Linked DNA regions of Homo sapiens: regions 1, 2, 3, 4, 5 and 7 are each linked to region 6. The links are contacts of gene promoters, found by promoter capture Hi-C in blood cells and fetal thymus (Javierre and others, 2016). All regions are on one chromosome and are shown on one strand. The core of a region is centred on a gene start or on the middle of the fragment in contact, and the rest is flanking DNA. Distances in the headings are between cores, read along the strand shown.

Region 1 (3,088 bases), core at 203-2,702, 350 kb after region 6:
AAACAATTCCTTACACCAAAAACTGAACAATTAAAACCAGAACGTGTCACATCTCAGGTATCTAATTTGAAGAAAAAAGAAACTACAGCAGATTCTCAAACCACAACATCTAAGTCATTACAGAATCAGTCTCTGAAAGAAAATCAGAAGAAGCCATTTGTGGGAAGTTGGGTTAAAGGCTTAATAAGCAGGGGTGCTTCTTTTATGCCACTCTGTGTTTCAGCTCATAATAGAAACACTATAACTGATTTACAACCTTCAGTTAAAGGGGTAAATAATTTTGGTGGCTTTAAAACTAAAGGTATAAACCAGAAGGCCAGCCACGTATCCAAGAAAGCTCGTAAGAGTGCAAGTAAGCCTCCTCCCATCAGTAAGCCACCAGCAGGCCCTCCATCGTCTAATGGCACAGCTGCCCACCCACATGCTCATGCTGCTTCAGAAGTTTTGGAAAAGTCTGGAAGCACCTCATGTGGAGCTCAACTCAACCACAGTTCTTATGGGAATGGTATTTCTTCAGCAAACCATGAAGACTTGGTGGAAGGTCAGATTCATAAACTTCGTCTAAAACTTCGTAAAAAGCTAAAGGCAGAAAAGAAGAAATTAGCTGCTCTTATGTCTTCCCCGCAAAGCAGAACAGTTCGAAGTGAAAATCTAGAACAGGTGCCCCAGGATGGGTCTCCAAATGATTGTGAATCAATAGAGGACTTGTTAAATGAGCTACCATATCCAATTGATATTGCCAGTGAGTCTGCATGCACCACTGTTCCTGGTGTTTCCCTGTACAGTAGTCAAACTCATGAAGAAATTTTAGCGGAATTATTGTCTCCTACACCTGTTTCAACAGAGCTGTCAGAAAATGGGGAAGGTGACTTTAGGTATTTGGGAATGGGAGATAGTCATATCCCACCACCAGTACCAAGTGAATTCAATGATGTTTCCCAGAACACACATCTGAGACAGGACCATAATTATTGTAGCCCCACCAAGAAAAATCCATGTGAAGTTCAGCCAGACTCTCTGACAAATAATGCCTGCGTTAGAACATTAAACTTGGAGAGTCCGATGAAGACTGATATTTTCGATGAGTTTTTTTCCTCCTCAGCATTAAATGCTTTAGCAAATGACACATTAGACCTACCTCATTTCGATGAATATCTGTTTGAGAATTATTGAATTAATGCTTGTTAACTTTTTTCATATAATATTTATTATTATTAGAAGAACTTACAATGTGTTCAGGTAGTGTTTATACACTGGACTTGTGTAATTACTTGTGTAATAACCATGAACAAAATGCAAGGTTTAACCTTTGGTTCTGCCCATGAAGCATGTAATCTTTCTTACACATTAAAATCACTGAATGTGTTCTCCTTTTTGGTTTCATTTTGTTCTTGTGAGAGTATGAGGATTTCAAAATGTTAAAGATGAAAAGTGGCGTCTAGTTTCTGACAGTTTGTACAGTTGGATGCATTACATTTTTAGATTTGAAGTTTTGGTTATGTTAGTGTTATGAGTGATCTTTGTGGTGGTTTTCTTCCCCTGGAAACCTGTTGCTCGTGGCGCTTTGCCCACGGTGCCCGAGTTCTTGTCCTGTGTCCAGATATGCAGACAAATGAAGGGTGAAGAAGAAGAAGAGGAGCTTTATTTAGTGTTAGAACAGCTCAGAAGGAGACCCACAGTGAGCAGCTCCCCTGTGTCGGCGGGCAGGTCGTCCCTCAAGTGTTCAGCTCTCAGCAGAGAAAAGGCCCTGGAGAGGGTGACTCCTCTCAGCTCTCAGCAGAGAAGCAGCCCTGGAGAAGGTAGCTTCTGTTCGCAGGCAGATTGTCCAGAGGTCCTGCTGCTCTCAGACGGGGCCCTGGAGAGGATAGCTTCTATCCATAGGCAGGTTGTTCTGCCGTCTCTACAGGTCTCTGAAGCTCTTAGCAGAGAGGGTAGCTCCTCCCTGTTGCTGGTCGTCCCACCCTCTGCTCAGTTCTGGCTGAGCCTGGGGCATTTTACGGGCCTCGGGGGAGGAAGTGCATACTTACTGGCCTGGAAAAGGCACCAGTTCCCACTCCTACAGGTGGGACTGGCAGCCTGGCCCTCAGCCTTCAGGCCCTCCCTGTTCATGGCTTCCAGGCTTACCCCCCTGCTTTGATCTGAGAGCTGGTGCCAATAGCAGGGAGAAGCCAAGCTGCAGAGGCAAGCACTTCCGAGCCTGCAAAAGCAGGCCCCCAAAAGTGCAGGGATGCCTGAGTCTGCACCCGCACCCAGGAGGGTGGAGATCTTGCCTGCTCCAAGGCTGCAGCCGGAATGATAGCAGGCTGACTGGAGCACCTGCCACCATCATTAGTTCAAGAGTTTATGCAGATTTAAGTTGTATACGGTATATGAATGTGTGACAGTTTTCCTTATGGTTGTGTGGCCTTCTGTAAGAGCCTACGCCTGTTTGTTACACCGGTAGAGTGCTGTGGAATGTAAACTTTCCCTATGTCACTTATCTCCTTTATCTCTCCATACAGAGGAGGGCAAGAAACCTTGTTACTTGAACTTTAGTAATGTTAAGTGATCAATAAATCTATAAATAAATGATAGCAGAAAAAAGTTACCTGTTTTTGTGATGATGTACAAACTTTACATGTTATCACAAATACCATCTTTCTTCCCAAGACATTTACTTCTGTAACCAAAGTGGGACACCATCTAACAGTTCTGTTTTGGGAGAGAGTAATAACCAGTGCTTGTGAGGCTTGTTAGATGTTGGTTGTGATATATGAGATAGATGTTATTTCATTTAGACCTCAACATTCCTGTGCGTGAGATACTTTTATCACATCTTACAGATAAGGAGACTGTACTCATTCAGTTGTGGAGCTGAGATTGAGTAGAGTGGCTATTACAGCAGTTGAGTGCTGAGCTTATCAATATATGTTCCACTCCTCAGGCTTCATTTAAAGTAGGATGCCCAAACAGCACCACTGCCGTAGAGATTTGAGTTAACAGCAGTACTTACTGAGGTTTAAGGCTGGCAGCCAGTGTCCTTGCAGTAAAATTATTTGCTAGGGACTCAGTACTTCATAATCTATTTGTCAGATTTACTCCTAAGCTT
Region 2 (3,275 bases), core at 555-3,054, 290 kb after region 6:
CCCTCATCCCAACGGACTACAGGAACAGACCTCAGGTCACATTTGACTCATAGCCTGACCCCTGGTGTGTAGGGTTAACAAGCCTCCTTTCCCTGGGCTCCTTTTTCTTTCAGCATTCCAAGCCAAAGGAAACTATCTTTTTCAAATCATTTTCTCTCCTAGGTGGGACATCTTACACCAGCCCAGGCATGCTTCCGATAGCCTTAGAGTAGCTGTCCCTTCCTCAGAATTACTGTCTAATTGGCTAGAAGTTAGCAACTTTTTACATTTTTCCTTCAATTCCTTTCCATTAAGAAGAAGGCATGCACCGGCAAATTACTTGTGACTATCAATGACATACTCTCAGAAGCACCAGTACCCCTGTGTTGTTTCTAAACCCATTCTAATAGACACATACCCCAAGGTTATGCTGTTTGTCATCTCACAAAATGACTTACATCTAGAGATTTAAATAATTAATGTACTTTTCATAACTACCAGGTACAGTAGATCTGATAATGGCAGAGCTAAGCACATATACAGAAAGTAGGGCAAGGGCCAGAGACTCATTTTAAAGCAATGTTACAAGATCGTCACTGTTGCTTTTCATTTTTCTAAATGTGGCCACTGCTGTTTTCTCACTAAAGGAAATGTTTTATGTAAAGTGAATAACAGTACCTGGCATAAAATAAGTGCTCAATAAATGTTAAGGCCTTCTCTCCCTCTTCAACTGGCCTCCTCATTTTTCACAAAGTGAAATAGAAAAACAACATGGAAGATAATCCTGTTGCTTAGGAAAAATAACTAAAGCTTGCTAGACAAAATACACCTGAAAATATAGGAAGTGAGCTATAGCTGGCCTATATGCATGTATGTTGGAACAGGACAAGATAGTGTAGGGTGGGGTGAAGAGGACAGAGAAATGGAAGGAAAGGGGCTACAGCCTTGGTGGCAAAATAAAGGATAAGACGACTCTTTTAAAATGGTCTATTTCAAATGCTGGGTTGTGAAACTTAATTTGATTACTTCATGAGAAACAGCATCTATAATCCATCCCTGATTTTTCTACAACAAAAATTTATTATTTATTTTATGTTTGTGTGTAGATCTTTTATATATATACATGTACACACGTATATGTATATATTATATATGCATATGCATATATATGTGTATATACATATATAATATATTGTGTGTGTATGTGTGTGTATATATAATTTTTTTAAAGGAATGGGGTCTCACTATGTTGCCCAGGCTGGACTTGAACTCCTGGGCTCAAGCAATCCTCCACCTCAGCCTCCCAAGTAGCAACCAACAGTTTTAGTTTTGAAAAAATAACAAATATTAAACACCCATGTGTAAGGGTTGGTACTGGGCCCTGTGTTAGTTTGCATGGGCTGTCGTAACGTAACACTACAGGCCGGGCACAACGGCTCACGCCTGTAATCCCAGTACTTTATGAGGCCAAGGTGGGCGGATCACCTGAGGTCAGGAGTTTGAGACCAGTCTGACCAACATGGAGAAACCCCGTCTCTACTAAAAATACAAAATTAGCCATGTGTGGTGGCTCATGCCTGTAATCCCAGCTACTTGGGAGACTGAGGCAGGAGAATCGCTTGAACCTGGGAGGCGGAGGTTGTGATGAGCTGAGATCAGGCCATTGTACTCCAGCCTGGGCAACAAGAGCAAAACTCTGTCTCAAAAACAAAAAAACAAAAACAAAAAAACCCTGATAACACTACAGACTGGGTAGCTGGACCAACAGAAATTTATTTTCTCACAGTTCTGGAGGCTGGAAATCTAAGATAAAGTTGTTGGCTGGTTTGGTTTCTGAGGCCTCTCTCCTTAACTTGCAGATGGCTGCTTTCTTGAAATGTCCTCACATAGCTGTCCCTCTGTCTGTTTCTGGTGTCTCCCCACGTATCCAAATTTCCTCTTCTTATAAAGATACTAGTCATATTGGATTAGGGTCCACCATAAAGACCTCATTTAAACTTAATCACCTTTTTACGGCCCTGTGTCCAAATACAGTCACATTCCGAGTTCCAGGGGATTAGGGCTTCAACCTATGAATTGGGGGTGGGGCACAATTCAGCCCGTAACAGGCCTAGACCTTAATTTGTCAACACTACAGTTAGATTTATAGTATAGTAACTGCATCTGTGCTCATCTAAATGTCATACCCAAATGAAATAATATAGCATGATGATCTGAATTTATTAAAGGCAATTTTTCCTATAGAAACCCAAATCTATAAATTATATACAAACTGTGGTAAGTTACTCGATACCTTGCCAGGACTCATCTATGGTGGTAGATAGACCACAAAGAGTACCACTGAAAGATCCCTTTCCTAATCACAGTTTCCTCACTGGCTTGCCACAAAACCTAAAATTCTTCTATTCTTTCATTGGCAATTTATTTCCCCTGAAAATGTAAATAATCTCTGGCAGAGCAATCTATTAAGTGATCATCAGCCACTAACACCTTAGGGTAGAACAGCTCAGATCACAGTCTTAAAATAAATTCCATCAGTATGAAATTTTCTTTATTACTGCTCCGCTACTGGAATGTTAGATCACTGTCTGCTTTAATAATAATTCTGGTGTAGGTCATTCAAATTTTGTTTAAGATAATAAGACAAATAGCAGGTATAAAAACATTCCGTCATCTAATAAAGCAACCCGAGAACAGTAAGAAGAACGTGATGAAATTAACATTTTTGAGTACCTGCTAGGAATCAAGTATTCTGCTAGATATTTTAGAAATCATCTCAATTCAATCCTAAAAATTATTCTGTATAATAGTATAGGTTGAGTATTCCTAATCCAAAAATCTGAAGCTTTTTTTTTCCTGAGACGGAGTTTTGCTCTTGTTGACCAGGCTGGAGTGCAATGGCGCAATCCTGACTCACTGCAACCTCCGCCTCCTGGGTTCAAGTGATTAGGGATACTCAACTGGCTAAATATAATGCAAATATTTCAAAATCTGAAAAAACCCAAATCTGAAACACTTCTGGTCCCAAACATTTCAGGCAAGGGACACTCAAGTTGTATTAATCCCATTTTACAGAAGAAGAAACAGGCTCAGATAAATGAACATCTCAGAGCTTGTTGATAGCAAAGGAGAGATTGAAACTGTCAGGCCTCTGATCCCAAGCCAAGCCATCACTTCCCCTGTGACTTGCATGTATACATCCAGATGGCCTGAAGTAACTGAAGATCCACAAAAGAAGTAAAAATAACCTTAACTAATGACATTCTACCACTGTGATTTGTTTCTGCCCCACCCTC
Region 3 (3,124 bases), core at 202-2,701, 320 kb after region 6:
AGGTCCTTGTTAGCTATTAGCATATAGTAGTTACTCTCTCATCTCTTTGGTTTATCTTTGCAACTGATGGGAAAAGTTATGAATTTCTAATGTACCTGGAAGAGTATTTTGGAAATTGGTTAGTCCAAAACCAGTATATATACTCTGAACTAAAGAGAGTATAGAATCTTGTAAATTCTAAAAGATCCTTTTAGAAGCTCTAAATCGCTTTTAGAATTATAGTAATTTGTACCGACTGGTACGGCTTTTATATAGCAGCTCATTAAATTCTGTAATACTCCACATTTTATTGTATTTGACAGTTTATGAGACTGTCTCATACACTTTTAATTCTCAGAACTTTGCAAGATTTGTATTCCTATTTCATGAATAAGAAAATAAATTGATTTCAGAGGGTTTGGGAACATAAGATCCTGATACAGTGGCAGAGCTGTGGTTGGAATACAGACTTCTAATTTCAGATCTGTTTATTCCAGCAAAAAATTAGCAGTTCATCAGAATTACCTGGAGTGCTTTTAATAAATTTCTGAGTATCACCCCCAGATGCTGATTCAATAGAGTTGGCCCAGAATTCTGTGGTTTTGTAACATTTGAGGATGAGTCTGATCATCATCAGCCAGGTTTGGAAAATACTAGACTAAATCACATGGTTGTTAATAGATACTTATGCTGGGTATAATTTGAAGTAAAGTAATCCCAGGCGTGTCTACAAATATAAATTTCTTTATGTTTATATTCAGTAATTTTTTTTATGAGTGTCACTGTTTGGCACTGTTGCAGATACAATGTTAGGATACAATAATAAAACAAAAATTTCTTGCCCTTAAGGAAGTTATGTCATAGAGTGGGAAAGACAGTGAACAAGTATGTGTTTTTCTGTCAGGTGATAAAAAGTGCTGTGGAGAAAAATAAGGCAGTAGGGACTGGAATGCCAAAGTAGGGGGAGTTTGCAATTTTAAATAGGATGGTGAGGGGAACGCTTCAATGAAAAGTGCAATTCGAGCAAAAGCCTGAAAGAGGTGAAGAGCAGTGAGCTTTCTAGGCAGGGGAAGCAAGTTCCAGGAAGGCCCTGAGAGAATGGAGGCTGCCTGTCATGTTTGTGCTACTGCAATGAAAGCAGCAGAGCGATAGAAGGTGGATCAGAAAAATAATGGGGGAGCTGGACCAAGTAGGGTCTTATAAGCCATTGTAAGCTTTCTGGCTTTTACTATGGGTGAAACCAGGAACCATGGCAGAGATGTTGGCAGAGGAGTGACATAAGTTGACTTCAGTGTTAAAAGCATTACTGTGGCTGCACTGTTGAAAATATATGTAATGGGCAAGACCTGAAGCAGGGAGATTAGTTATAGTATAATATGAATTATATTTGGTCCTTGTCTATGGTTTCCGTTACAGAGCTAAAAGTCTTGGAATTTCCTGAATGATAAGAGTGTCCTGTTATTCAGAATGAGCCTGTTTGCTAACACCGGGGTTCATACTATTGTGGTGACTTAGGATGGAGCCGTAGATAGCCTCAGATGGGGCAAGTAGCTGGAAAGACCACATGATTAGAGAATTAACGGGTTAGAACTTTTAGCCCCACGTACAGGCCTCCAGGAAAGGAGTGGAGGGGCTGGAGATCAAGCTGTATAAAAATATCAAGATTTGGATTTAATGAGTGGGTTGCTGGGGGCTGGTGCCGTGTAGGAGGTGGTATGCTTAGAGGAAGTGGAAGCTTCATACCTCTTCTGTCCCATACCTTGCCCTACTCATTTCTTCATCTATACCCTTTATAATATCCTTTAGGATAAACCAATAAACATAAGTAAGTGTTTGTTTGAGTTCTGCGAGCTGTCCTTGCAAACTAGTTATGCCCAAGAAGGGGGAGTGGGAACCTTTGTAGCCAGTCAGTCAGATGTACTGGTGGCCTGGATGTGGGATTGGCATCTGAAGTGGAGGGAGTCATGGGACTGAGCCCTCAACCTGTAGGATCTGACATGGTCTCTAGGTAGATAACATCCAAATGGAATTGGATTATAGGATACCCATTTGGTGTCCTCTGGAGAATTGCTTGGTGTGGGGAAAAAGCCCCCACACATCTGGTCACAAAAGTGTGCTGGGAGGATAGAATATGTGAAAATTGTCATAATCAAAATGGAGTCACTTGTGTTAAAAAAGAAAAAAAAATCCTGACTGGCCAGGCACAGTGGCTGACAACTGTAATCCCAACACTTTGGGAGGCTGAGGCAGGAGGATTGCTTGATCCCAGGAATTGGAGACCAGCCCATGCAACATAGTGTGGCCTTGTCTCTACAAAAAAAAAAATTTAAATTAGCTGGGCATGGTGGTGTGAGTCTGTAGCCCCAGCTACCCGGGAGGGGGACTACGGGTGCACGGCACCATGCCCAGGAGGTCCAGGCTGCAGTGAGCTGTGATTGTGCCACTGCATTCCAGTCAGGATGACAGAGTGTGAGACCCTGTCTCTATTAAAAGAAAAAAAAAAGACAAATAGATCCAGGAAAGGCTATGAAGAGAGAGCTTTCATGCATAAATACCAAAATATCTCAAAAGACTCTGCAAAAACCACACCCTTGCACAAAGGCCATCATGAAATACTTCTGAAATACACAGAAAATACATCATGAAATAAATACACAGAAAATACTTCTGCAAGGACATCTGCCCAGCAACTGCCTGGTCCATCTGTGGACGGGTGTCATCCTTGTTATTGATCCTTGTAGCCAAGGGTAATTATCTCAAAACAAGTATGTGATCCTCCTTATTTTCCTTTAAAAACCTTTTGTCTTCCCTTACCTCCCTGAACACACACAGTTTACTATGGCATGTGTATTCCCATTGGAATACTTTATTCCTGAATAAATGTCACTTTCTTTTTAGAAGCTTCTCTTTTCTTTTTATTTAGATTGATAAGTAGAAAGGAAAAAAAGCTTTTTTCCCTTTGGACTAGTTGAAGGCAGTTGCAGTATTCTGGGGGAGAGGGTGGTGGCAGAGGTGTTGAGGCATGGTTGGAGTTTATTTATACTTTGAAGGTAAAGCCAACAGGATTTGCTGAAAGATTGGGATATGGGGTTGGAAAGAGGAATCAAGGATAGTTCCAAGATTTTTGGCTTGAAAAATTAGAAGA
Region 4 (3,040 bases), core at 300-2,799, 370 kb after region 6:
GAGGAGTGCCTGTGTGTGGGTAGGGACACCGGCGGGGGGCTTTGCCAAACACAGTGGAACTGTCACGCTGGTCTCTCTTCTCAACTCTTTCACTCACCTGAGAAAAGGGTGTCTATGGACCATGCACACTTCTGTGGGGAATTTTACAAGATGTGAATCATCAGTGATGAAGATGCTTTCATTTAAAAAGAATTGGAGTACCTGAGATTAGAGATAACTTCTACCCTTTTAAAATATTTTTAAAAATTTCTTTGCACTGATTTTTTTTCTTCGTTTTTATGAGTTGTTTTCATTTGGGTGGGATAACTCAATCTACAGGAGAATATTAAGACTTTTTAAATTTTAAAAAATATACTTTCAAATACTTAATACATTTTGTGTTAAATGACAGCCAGCAGATATTGACTGAATTGGGCTAGATGCTTCAGGGATCTCCCTTCCATTTAAGACTCTCCGAGAGGCCATTCCTGACTGCAGGTCACTGTATTATTTTTAATTTTAAAATTTTTACTTACTTATTTTATTTAATTTTATTTTTTGAGACAGAGTCTCACTCTGTCGCCCAGGTTGGAGTGCAGTGGCACAATCTCAGCTCACTGCAACCTCCACCTCCCGGGCTCAAGCGATTCTCCTGCCTCAGCCTCCTGACTAGCTGGGGTTACAGGTGCAGGCCACCACACCCCGTTAATTTTTGTATATTTAGTGGAGTCAGGGATTCGCCATGTTGGCCAGGCTAGTCTCAAACTCCTGACCTCAAGCGATCCTTCCACCTCAGCCTCCCAAAATGCTGGGATTACAGGCCTGAGCCACCCCACTCGGCCTACTTTATTAATCCACTTGCAGAAACAGGATATACACAAAAACGTTTCAAGGCTGTAAGTGCCACTGCATGGCACCAATGGTAAACGTTTTACAAATTTGAGTCAGGAACAATCATTAGTGTCACTAGCAACAAAAATCAAAATTAAATGAAATAAAAAATTTCTTTCCCCAAATGGCAAAGGAGAAAGAAAGGTAATACTAACACGCAGTCAGGGTGTAGTGAGAGGGCCGCTCTCACACAGGACTGGTAAGTACAGAGCCATGGAGTAAGCAGGTCTTGAGCTGACACTGGAGAGGATCCTTTTTTTTTTTTATTTTTATTTTTTTAGAGTCAGGGTCTTGCTTTTTTACCCAGGCTGGAGTACAGTGGTGCCATCATAGCTCACTGCAGCTTCAAACTCCTGGGCTCAAGAGATCCTCCTGCCTCAGCATCCCCAGTAGCAGGGACCACAAGTGAGAGGATCCTTTAGTGTTGTCAAGGAGAAGGAACAGAGGTGTGGATGGGTGGGCACAGACACAGGAGCACAGCTGAAGCAGAGGATTACAAAGGGTGGAGCCTGATGTAAAGAAACCTAATAGGTGACAGAGCATGGAGGCTCTTGAATACCAGGCTGGAAACTGCATTAGGAACGGTGCTCATAATTGCAGAAAATTTTACATGGCCTAGATAGTCATCAAAGGATGATGTACAAACAACTATGGCATATTTATACAATGTGCCGACAGGATGCACTGAACATTTTGAACAACAAAGAGACTTGATAATGGCGAGGTTTTGAGGAGGTGAATCAGGATGCAAAAAAAGCAAACAACTAATAAAGTTGATTGATGACAAACACTATCAAAAGGCAGCCAGGAGAAAAGCTACTGGTTACCTCCAGGGAGCTGGTGAGGGAGGCTGGGTGGGAGGATCTACCCTTCTGAATTCTGAGGGCACCTCCAGTGTGGCCCTCAGAAAGCAGGAGCTTCCAGGCTAGAATCAGATCCCGACATCCCTGTTAATTCCACGGATTCCACACCGAGTCAGATTTATGATTTACTATAGGGTTTTAAAAACCAAATTGCAGGGATGCTAGCCTATCACAGCTTATCTCAGACATTGTCCACTAAGGTATACAGAGTGCTGCCTGTTCCTTTGGTACCCTAATCAGGAAACCCCATCAGATCTGCTCCTTCCTATGGGGTAGTGAGTAACACGAAGGCTTACCATCTCACACAGATAACTGGTCATAGGTCCAGCAGAAGTTTAAAACAGAAAATGAGGAAAGCCATGTGATTAACTGCTGCCAGACTGTTTGTGTTACAAACAGCAGTTCCTTAGGCATTGCCTGGGACATGCAATAATTTCTGTTACACAATCTGTGGTAGTTAAAATGCTGCACGATGAAAGCTATCTGATTTGGATTCATTATTAGGTGAGCCATCTCGTCTGCAATTTGGTTCCACCATTTTCATTTAACAAATGTAAAAAAGTTTATTAAGCTCTTACAAAGTTATGCTGGGCAAATATGCAAAAGTCCAGATCACCTACCGCAGGAACTAATCTAGCCTCCTCTCTGGGCACCCTGTTGTTTGGGGCTGGGCAGTTCTTTCCTGTGTAGAACCATCTAGGGCTGAATAGGTCATTCTGACACCTGGGCACCTCTGCCTGCTCGTAAATGGGACAATCAGAAAGGGCCCTTATGTTTCCAAACTTTCTTTAAAGTAGCTGTTCTGAAAACATGGTCCAGGGACCCCTGATTGTCCCTGAGACCTTTGAGGGGATCTTCAAGGTTAAAATTAATGTCATAATAATACTAATATGTTATCTGTCTTTTTTCACTCTCACTTTCTCACACGTGAACAGTGGCATTTTCCAGGTGACAGAGTGTGTGATAATGAACCTAACTGAATGCAGAAGCAAACATGAGAACCTAGTTTTTTCAATCAAACCAGACGTGAAAGAGATTTGCAAAAATGAAAAAACAATGCTATCCTCCTCACAATATTTTTGTTTTAGAAAATAAAGTTATTTTTCCTAGAAATGTTTTTGAGTTTATCAGTCATAGGTTTATTATTATAATTAAAAAATGAAATATACATACACAGACATATTTTTTAAAGTTCTCAGTTTTAATCTCTTTTTTTTTTTTTTTTTTTTTGAGACGGAGTCTCGCTCTGTCGCCCAGGTTGGAGTGCAGTGGTGCGATCTCAGCTCACTGCAAGCTCCGCCTCCCTG
Region 5 (3,181 bases), core at 495-2,994, 330 kb after region 6:
GTCTCTACTAAAAATACAAAAATTAGCCGGGCGTGGTAGTGTGTGCCTGTAGTTCCAGCTACTCGGGAGGCTGAGGCAGGAGAATCGCTTGAACTTGGGAGACAGAGGTTGCAGTGAGCTGAGATCACGCCATTGCATTCCAGCCTGGGGACAGAGCGAGACTCCGTCTCAAAAAATGTATATATATATATATATATATATGTGTGTATGTGTGTGTATGTGCGTGTGTATATATATATATCGGGAAGCATGGCATCTTTTGTACATGCTGGACAGCTTTTGACGTACTTCTTTGACTCATGCTTCTGCCCCCTAATTTTCACTTTTTTTCCTACATTTTATTAAAATTAATATATAATAGTTGTATATCTGCTTTATTTTTCATGGACTTATACATACATATTTATTCTGTTCTTATAAAAGTCTGATTTTTCGTATGCCAAATTTCTGACATTTCCTCCTCTAGGCCTGAAGAACTGTTGTAATTTATGCATCAGATAGGCCCTCAGATGGAATGAATATTCTTTTTTCTTTATATCAAGGTGTAATTTACATATAGTAAGACCGTTTTTAAGTGTGTACAGCTCTGTAACCCTCACTACAATCAAGATATAGGACTCTGTCACTCTAAAACTTCTCACCAGGTTCATCACCCCCAGCCACTGATCTGTTGAGCGAATACTCATTTCAAAGGAGCTTTTTCCGTAAGATCCCTAGAGTTTAGATGGAAGGGCTTTCGTGGTGCATTTAGCAGATACCATTTCCCTTCTAGACTCCCTACTTCAGTTCCCAGTTGAATTAAAGAATGGTTTCTCCCCCAGCCTGAGTCACTACCCTTCTTATCCCTGATAATTATTTTTGGAACAAAGTTACATCTTTTGCTCCACCTCCGCCATGGGCCTGGTTTTCTATGTAACAGAAGGAATTTTTAAATTATTGTTTTGTGTAATCATAATAATTGGGCAAGCATACAGCTCTTTTCAGTGCAGGAGGATTCCTCTCTTGTTTTACTGCCCATTCAAGGATAGGTGCTATATTTTAGCTGAAGATCTTACTAATGAAATGCTCTGTAATCATATAACTTATTTAAAGATGTGTTTTGAGCTCTTTCATAATATTTTAATTCATGGAGAACTTTATGTATTTTAGACCTGAAGATTTTATATTGTCATTATGAAATGTAAATTGTTTGCTTTTTCAGTTAATATATAGTTACAATAGAATACGGATTTAAAGGCTGATAATGAATTACAAAATTGTGCTATATGACATACTGTTTATGCATACAGTGTTGCATATTTTCATTTCTAGGATATTGATTTGTATTTCTACTTACAAAAAAACTTTTTAAAACTTATTTTATGGCTGGGCCCGGTGGCTCACACCTGTAATCCCAGCACTTTGGGAGGCCGAGGCGGGTGGATCACCTGAGGTCAGGAGTTCAAGATCAGCCTGGCCAACATGGTGAAACCCTGTCTCTACTAAAAATACAAAAAATTAGCCGGACGTGGTGTAGGTGCCTGTAATCCCAGCTACTCGGGAGGCTGAGGCAGGAAAATTGCTTGAAACCAGGAGGCAGTGGTTGCAGCGAGCAGAGATTGCGCCATTGCACTCCAACCTGAGCAACAAGTGCGAAACTCCTTCTCAAAAAGAAACAAAAAAACTTTTTTTAATGTTTTTGTTCAAAAGTAGCAGTGAGACTATCCCGCAAAGGTGACTACTAAAATAGCCTTTGTAACTACTGATATTTATAGAATATGCTTAGGGTTAGGGTATAACTCGCTTGTATTATACTCATCTACCATGTAGAAATATGTACATCATAAGGAAATATAATACTGTTTGATTACCTTGGATGATCATATTCTTGGGAGAGAGAATCTGAGTAGTTTGACTTAGGAATCTACCACTGGGTAAGTTATTGTAGGGCAGAGCTGTTCCATATAAATATGTAGGCTGGTGTTCCACCTCTTGAGAGTGGGTGCAGTTCTCAGAACCGGGAGAATATTTAGGGGACATATTGTTAGTTGCTTCTCTAGTACTTTTCCCAGTAGACAGATCTAGCATTTTTAACCTCAATTGTGCATTAAAAAGCACCGAGGGAATTTAAAAGTAAATACCAATCATAGGGACATTTGAATTAGGATCTCAGGGAAGGGGCTCAGGAAATCAGTAATTTTTAGAAACCCCACATGATTGTTATTGCTTAGGTAATAACACCTACTGTCTACCTTGTGGTCCTGCCAAGGTGACTGTTCCTGGCCATGTTCCAGGCAACTGTAGTTCCAGGCTAGGGGGAGAACTGGACCATGGAAGTGAGGCTCTGTCCAGGGTAGGGGAAGGGATGGAAGGTGACTGTTCCTGGCCATGTTCCAGGCAACTGTAGTTCCAGGCTAGGGGGAGAACTGGACCATGGAAGTGAGGCTCTGTGCAGGGTAGGGGAAGGGATGGAAGGACTCAGTCTCTTGGGCCAAATCGGTAAGGCAGCATCTAAGCTCCTCTGAGAATAGGAAGGAGAGCAACCAATTGGAAAAAGAATGGGAAACATGTAGATTCTCCTGCTTACCTTACTTTCCAGTCTCAAAGCTGGAAGCCAGCATTCACTGTTCAGTTATTTTCAATGACAACAAGATTCAAATCTTCAGTTGTAAAGTTGTTAAAGGAAAGGATTAGACTGAAAAGTTAAGAAGAACGGTAGATGAAGAGTCCAAAGAGTTGAGGCTGGTCATTTAACCATTGTGTGGCCACGCCCTCTCCACAGGTGGAACAAGATGATCAGAATAGAAATGGCCAATTCTGATGTGTTTCTACAGTGTTTCACTGATTACATTTTTTAACATCTGTAGCAAACCATTTCCATAATTTTTTTTTTTTTTTTTAGAGACGAGGTCTCGCTCTGTCACCCAGGCTGGTATGCAGCGGCATGATCATAGCTCACTGCAGCCTCAAATTCCTGGGCTCAAATGAGCCTCCTGCCTTAGCCTCCTAAGTAGCTTGGACTACAGGTGTGTAGCACCACTCTCAGCTAATTTATTTCATTTTATTTTTTGTAGAGATAATGCCTCGCTATATTGGCCAGGATGGTCTCAAACGTTCATAGAAACTGGTTTTAGGTTCCTAGAGGCTGGCAGCAATTCTCAGAGGTAACGCAAGCAGTCTTCCTGCCTTGGCCTCCCAGTGT
Region 6 (3,314 bases), core at 710-3,209:
TCCTCATCTCTAAAAATCAGTAACTACTTCACCAACTGTTTTGAGGATTAAGTAAGGAGTTGCATGCAAAATACTCCTCACAGCACCTGACATATTCAATAAATGTTACTGTTATGTGATTATTTCCTCTGGGCTCCTAGAGCAACTTGCACTTATCTCTACCACACTACTGTGATGACAAGACTGCCCATGCAGGATACAGACTATCTTTTTTCATCTCTTTATTCTCACCACCTGGCATAATGCCTGGCACATAGGTTCCTAACACATTTTGAATGAATAAATAAAATACTTCAAACCTTATGTTGTATCACATAAGGCCTCAATTTTGTTTTCTACCTGTCTTACTAAACCTACTTTCCATCTCCTCCTTGTACAAAATTGCAACCTCAAGTAAAATTTACACAGGTCAACTTCATTTTAATTAAGAGAAAGTTTTATAGGATTTGTGGTCTTTTTGTTTTTAAACACACACACACACAAACTCACAATAATATCAACAATTCTCCAACTTACTCCATAAAGCAGCAAATTTCTAGGATGGTTATCTACCTATTAAAAAATTTTAAAGGGTCGTCAAGGAAGGTTTCGTAAATCTGTGTCAGCTTCCTTTACCAGCAAGTCTTTGAGTCAACTCTAAGGACTCAAGTGTACTCCTGAACATAAAAAATATATAAAGAATTAACTAAATAATTAAAACATGGTATTTTTCCTTCCGAAAACATGCTGAGAAATTCTGAATAACACTGGAATAATCAAAGAATTATTGCTGCCTACTGCTAAAAAAGTCTGTTTTTAAAAGTTACTAGTAATTTAAAGCTGAACTAATCAAAATATGTGTAGGCAGTGTTCAGGCTGGCAAGGGGGGGGTGGGGTGGAGCACTCATTTCACAACCTTGAACCTCAAGAAATAAAATTCAAAAATGCAAAAAGTTAAAAATGCCAGATACCACCATATAATCGCAATGACATCTTTTTATCTATTTCCACACTTAACCTTTAAACATTACTGCCCTTTGAGTAATTACCAATTGATGGGTTTAATATGCAAACACCTCTGAGCTACTTTAAAACAAACATGACTAACCCAGAAATAAACGTATCCAGGAAAGGAGAAAAACCTGTTAAAACACGGTTTCTCAGGTCTCACATCCAATGTGTGACATACATACGGTTCTGCACCGAAAGGCAGCAACCTGCGAGGGTCAGAGGCGCCGAAGACCCGAGGCCCTGCAGCTTGGGCGGCTGCTCATCCCTGAGACTGTGCAGGGCGGTGGCCCAGCCGGGGTGGGGCTGAGCGCTGCAACTGGGGCGGGCCCAGCTACAGGGCGGGAAGCCCGAGGCTCACCTCCACTTCCCTTTCCCAACGCACAGAGCCCAGGTCCGCGACCACTCAACAGCCCCCTCAAGACAAAGAGAGATTTTTTTTTCTGTCCCGGTCCGCTCAAAGTTTATCGGTCTTTCCCGGCGGTCGGGGCCGCCGGGCTTTGTAGTTCGCCAGTCCGAGCTACCCCACCAAGACCGCGAGCCCGAGGAGTCGCTGAACTACAATTCCCATGATGCACCGCGAGCCTGGCGCTCCCGCGCCCCTCCCCGTCCCCGCACGGGAGCCAGCGCCCGAGGAACCCCGCAGCCCACTGCCCTGGCGTCTCCGGCAGTGGGAGGCCGAGAGGGGCTGTTGGCTAGAGCCCTCCACCACCTGCTGTCTCGCCCTCGCCCCTTTCTCTCGGATTCATTACCCAGAAGGCGCAGGTCCGGGCACATTCAGCGATGCGGTCCAGATGGGGTGCGGGTGGGGCGCAGGCCGCCGCCGCCGCCGCCGCCGAGTCCGTTAGCTCGCGACGTGCGTGAAAAGGCGGCGGCGGCGTAGTGTTGCCATGGCAGCCGCGGCCGCGCGGTGGGCGCAGCGCGGGAGGGAGCGCGGGGGCTGTGAGTCCGCTCTGGGGCGGAGCTTGGGACTCCCGCCCAGGTTGCCGGGGGGAGGGAGGTGCAGCGGCGCGGGGTGGGAGAGCAGGGAGACAGTGACATTGAGGAGGACGTGTGGCCGACTGAGCTCTGGTCGTGCTTGATGAGCCTGCCTCCACTGCGTCCAGCCCCCGTGGCAGGGCACCTTCGTGCCTGCTGCTTTCGGAGGTGATGCCAGTGGCGTCGAAGGAGGGGGCACCCGGGGCGTCGCAGCGCCTTTCCCGCCGCCTGTCCAGGCGTCCGCCGCTGGGTCTGCCCCCAAGGGATGTGTGGATCCTACGCCACCTCTGTGTTTTTCTCCAGTCAAACCGAATTGAAGTCTTTCGCACCCCCTTTCTCCATTCTCTGGGGAGGGGGATAGAAGGGAATCCTTCGATAAGATGGAATGCATATGGCCTTTAGGATTATTCAGGAGGTTTTAGAATTTGCAAATGGCATTGCTTTCGACTGAATTTGGATTTATGCTGTTTCTTGGCAATCGTTTGTGGACTCTAGGATAAACAGGTTAAGAGCGTGGGCTTCTAAAACGAATTCTTAGTTCACGTCCTGCCCCTGTGCTTGGTAGCTGATGACCAGAGGCGCCTTTCTCACCTCTTAACGTTTTGATCTGCAAAAATGGAGATATCCATCTTGCAACTCTTGTAAGAAATACACGCATTAATACTGATGAAGCTCTATAAAACAAAGCTTAGCATTTAACAATAGCTATTAAATATTAATTATTTAATCAATAGTGATAAAAGTCAGAATAGTGGTTGGCTGTCGGGGAGGAGTTTGAGAGAATTTTTTGTAGTGATGAAAAAATTCTATAGCTAAGAGTTTCGGTTACAGAAGTATATGCACTTGTCAAAACTCTTGGAATGGGACATTTAAGATTTGTACATTTCACTGCATGTAAATTTACCTCAAAAGAGAACATAAAAATGTGTTGTTATTATTATTAGAGCTATAGACTCTAATGGAAACTACAGAGATATTCTAGGCCCAATCTCTAGATTTTATAGATGGGAAAACTGAGGCCCAGAAATTTAATAGAAAAAAAGAGGAAGGGGAGTGAATTCGTGACCTTGTCATTTTCTAGTAATGAATATCTCCTGAAAAATTATGGTTGAAAATAACAAAAATGGCTCCTGTAATCCAGCTGAGTCATCCTACCACAGAGATTTTCTTGAACTTGACTGAGTCCCTTATCCACCTTGTGGTGTTCCCCACGGCCAATGTCCTCTCAAGGATTGCACCGTCACTTCTGGCTCTCAGTTCTTGCTTTTCCTGAACACTTAGACCTCTCCACATATCACCTCTTACAACTCTCCTCTCTCTACTCCTGCTGACACATAATTTCGAAATCA
Region 7 (2,849 bases), core at 174-2,673, 410 kb after region 6:
TTACTGTTTTTGAAAAAACTCCCAAATTGAGTTTTTCCTCTTCACTTACAGCAGCATAACAACAATCATCAATGCAGAAGACTTCTGCGAGCAAAGGTGTGGGGGAAAACCCCAAGCAGTGGACACTAGCTGGTGTCCTCCAATTTGATTCTGATGCTGTCTACTGGGAGATAGTGTCAGATCCTCAAGCCTAAACCCTCCTTCTCCCAGTCAGAGGGCTGGCCTTTGGAACTTCTGACCAATCCACTTCAAGTTGAGGTTCCAACCACTCCGCTCTTTGGGTTTGGTTGATTTGCTAGAGTGGCTCACAGAACTCAGGGAAACACAGCTACCAGTTTATTGCGAAGGACATTTTAAAGGATAAAAGTAGGCAGATAAAGAGATGCATAGGGCGAGGTGTGGAAAGGTCCCTAGTGCAGGAGCTTCTGTCCATGTGGAGCGGGGGTGCACCACCCTCTCAGTACATGAATGAGTTCTCCTTCACCTGCCTATCAGCCTCTACATGTTCAGCTCCCCAACCCAGTCCTCTTGGGTTTTTATGGAAGCTTCAAGACACCCACATTCTTTCCCCAGAGTATAGGGCAAGACCTTCTCTGGGGAGGGTTTTAAGACCCACAGTCAGAAAGGTGGGGTGGGGTCAAGATTAGAGTCCTGCCTTGACGGGCAGGTGAAAGGGGTAGGGGGAGTAGGTGAGAAAAATTCTGTTTATTTTTTCTTTTTTTTTTTGAGACGGAGTTTCACTCTTGTTGCCCAGGGTGGAGTGCAATGGCACAATCTCAGCTCACTGCAACCTCCGCCTCCCAGGTTTAAGCGATTCTCCTGCCTCAGCCTCCCGAGTAGCTGGGATTACAGGCGTGTGCCACCATGCCTGGCTAATTTTGTATTTTTAATAGAGACAGGGTTTCTCCATGTTGGTCAGGCTGGTCTCAAACTCCTGACCTCAGGTGATCCACTTGCCTCAGCCTCCCAAAGTGCTGGGATCACAGGTGTGAGCCACTGCATCTGGCCAAAAGATTCTGTTTTTGAGGCCTGCCTCTGAGGTCTAACACACTCAACATTATAACAAGACTGTAGTAAGGGCTATGGGAGTTATGAGCCAGGAACTGTGGATGAAAACCTATCACAGATATGCATATATATATATATATATATATATGCATATCTATAATAACTCCACAACTACACACTGCCTTATTGCTCAGTTCTTCTCTCCATGTCTCTGACCCACCCTTGCCCCCTTCCTCCATCCTTTTCTCCATTGCATACCCATCCACTGTGCCCTTTGGAATGCTCACACCATGAACTGCAAACTCTCGTGTGGCTTCAGCCTCTTCTCTGAAAGTTCCTCTCACCTATTACTTTCTCTGGAACCTGCCATCCCTGCCACCTTCTCAAAAAAGGCCTTTTATTCTCTTCATTCCACAAAGCTCAGTGTCAAAACATGGGGTTTACACTGGAAGCTGAGGTCACATCAGTAGCCGGGATCAGGGTCGCCCTAGCTGCCCAATGCAGCTCCCAGGCCTCCTGTAAAACCTTGACCTTTGAGGTCATGACAGCCCTCTCCTGCTATGCTCATAGCTGACCACTGAACTCCTGGACACTCCCTCCCCCAAGTTCACAGAGAATGTGGGCACATGCCTTACAGTCTTCCCTTGATCCAAACTACTGCCTTCATCTTGAGTGACAGCAGCATCTTTTGGATGTCTTGGCCTGTCTAGCTTTATTTTTTTGTGTTCTGCCATCAAGTTGCTACTTCTGTTGCCATCGTGCCTGTCAGCGCAGTGCAGGCTGTGGTGAAATCCCACGAACTCAGGCATCACACTGACCGGGTCTGAGTCCTGTCTCAGTTGTCAGCTAGTTGTGCAATGAAGGGAAAGGGACCTACACTTTCCAAGCCTCAATTCACTCATCTATGGCATGGTGACAATAATGGAGGTTGATTTAAAGTCCTTTGTAAGAATTAAGAGTTATAATAGACATAAAGTGCTGTATCTGGTATACCTAGAAAACATTCCATAAAAGTTAGTAATTGTTGGTCATGTAATGATGACTCTCTAGGCTAGGATTTCAGCTTCATTGCATGCACATGGTGCACTCACAGGGCGTGACCTCTCTCTGTCTCAGTAACCTCATCTGAGGACCGGGATAATCATACCGCTTCAAAGGGATGTCATAAAGATTAAATAATATGTGTAAGGCTGCTTGCATTTAGCTGCATTCAACAAATATTTCTGTATCTTTCTCCTCATTTCTCCTTACTTTCTTGCTTATTATCTGCTCTAGGTATAGATTTCAGAGAACTAAGCTTGTTACAATCCTTCATAAAATAACCAGGTTGGTTAGGGCATTTCCAAGAGTCAATACTGTTTAGTGACTATTCTCTGTTTAATCTATTTTGATTGTCCAGGGTCATCTTTTGCTATGTCATAGGTTGTTGGCTTCTTCTAGAGAAGTGAGACGATGGACAAGTTCCAAGTGAGTGAGGCGACTGGTCAGGATATTCCGCTGAAAAACTCATGTCAGTTCTAATTCGTGATTGTAATTCAATCACAGCCTGAGAACAGTAGGACTGTAGTTCAAATGCTCTGTTCCCTTTTTTTTTTCCCAGAGGATAATTTTTTTTTTTCTTTGAGATGGAGTCTTGCTCTGTCACTAGGCTGGAGTGCAGTGGCGTGATCTCGGCTCACTGCAACCTCCGCCTCCTGGGTTCAAGCAATTCTCCTGCCTCAGCCTCCCAAGTAGCTGGGACTACAGGCACATGCCACCACGCCCAGATAATTTTCGTATTTTTAGTAGAGACGGGGTTTCCCCTTGTTGGCCAGGGTGGTCTTGATCTCTTGACCTCATGA

The links. Contacts are between HindIII fragments. The CHiCAGO score rates a contact against its expected background, and 5 or more counts as called.
Region 1: a fragment that was not itself captured here is called in contact with the fragment with the promoter of KATNAL1 in region 6 in 6 of 17 cell types (naive B cells, total B cells, neutrophils and 3 more); the score reaches 8.3 in naive B cells.
Region 2: a fragment that was not itself captured here is called in contact with the fragment with the promoter of KATNAL1 in region 6 in 8 of 17 cell types (naive B cells, total B cells, naive CD4 T cells and 5 more); the score reaches 9.1 in naive B cells.
Region 3: a fragment that was not itself captured here is called in contact with the fragment with the promoter of KATNAL1 in region 6 in 8 of 17 cell types (naive B cells, total B cells, fetal thymus and 5 more); the score reaches 11.8 in naive B cells.
Region 4: a fragment that was not itself captured here is called in contact with the fragment with the promoter of KATNAL1 in region 6 in 4 of 17 cell types (total B cells, naive B cells, naive CD8 T cells and 1 more); the score reaches 10.5 in total B cells.
Region 5: a contact is called between a fragment that was not itself captured here and the fragment with the promoter of KATNAL1 in region 6, in 3 of 17 cell types (naive B cells, total B cells and total CD4 T cells). The highest score is 8.4, in naive B cells.
Region 7: a contact is called between a fragment that was not itself captured here and the fragment with the promoter of KATNAL1 in region 6, in 2 of 17 cell types (naive B cells and total B cells). The highest score is 5.6, in naive B cells.

What each region holds. Positions count from the first base shown.
Region 1 is chr13:30,658,184-30,661,271 of GRCh38, forward strand. It overlaps USPL1 (ubiquitin specific peptidase like 1), which reads left to right. Exons shown (of 9, transcript NM_005800.5): 9 at 1-2,583. The coding sequence ends at 1,173. Among named protein-coding and RNA genes, the nearest start is that of TRN-GTT2-4, 14 kb to the right of the region's middle. RefSeq lists enhancers at 1,119-1,878, 1,619-1,738. The HindIII fragment of the contact is 3,262 bases long and covers 1-3,083 here.
Region 2 is chr13:30,597,787-30,601,061 of GRCh38, forward strand. It overlaps a transcript of HMGB1 not described here. Among named protein-coding and RNA genes, the nearest start is that of USPL1, 18 kb to the right of the region's middle. The HindIII fragment of the contact is 2,035 bases long and covers 788-2,822 here.
Region 3 is chr13:30,622,159-30,625,282 of GRCh38, forward strand. All of the region lies in intron 3 of USPL1 (ubiquitin specific peptidase like 1), which reads left to right. Among named protein-coding and RNA genes, the nearest start is that of USPL1, 5.8 kb to the left of the region's middle. The HindIII fragment of the contact is 521 bases long and covers 1,192-1,712 here.
Region 4 is chr13:30,679,994-30,683,033 of GRCh38, forward strand. No RefSeq gene overlaps it. Among named protein-coding and RNA genes, the nearest start is that of TRN-GTT2-4, 7.5 kb to the left of the region's middle. The HindIII fragment of the contact is 9,070 bases long and covers 1-3,040 here.
Region 5 is chr13:30,639,045-30,642,225 of GRCh38, forward strand. The region is part of intron 5 of USPL1 (ubiquitin specific peptidase like 1); the gene reads left to right. Among named protein-coding and RNA genes, the nearest start is that of USPL1, 23 kb to the left of the region's middle. The HindIII fragment of the contact is 4,705 bases long and covers 1-3,181 here.
Region 6 is chr13:30,305,592-30,308,905 of GRCh38, forward strand. KATNAL1 (katanin catalytic subunit A1 like 1) reads right to left here and starts at 1,960. Exons shown (of 11, transcript NM_032116.5): 1 at 1,740-1,960. RefSeq lists silencers at 1,595-1,704, 1,735-1,964. The HindIII fragment of the contact is 2,852 bases long and covers 1-2,650 here.
Region 7 is chr13:30,717,251-30,720,099 of GRCh38, forward strand. It overlaps a transcript of ALOX5AP not described here. Among named protein-coding and RNA genes, the nearest start is that of ALOX5AP, 17 kb to the right of the region's middle. The HindIII fragment of the contact is 1,760 bases long and covers 544-2,303 here.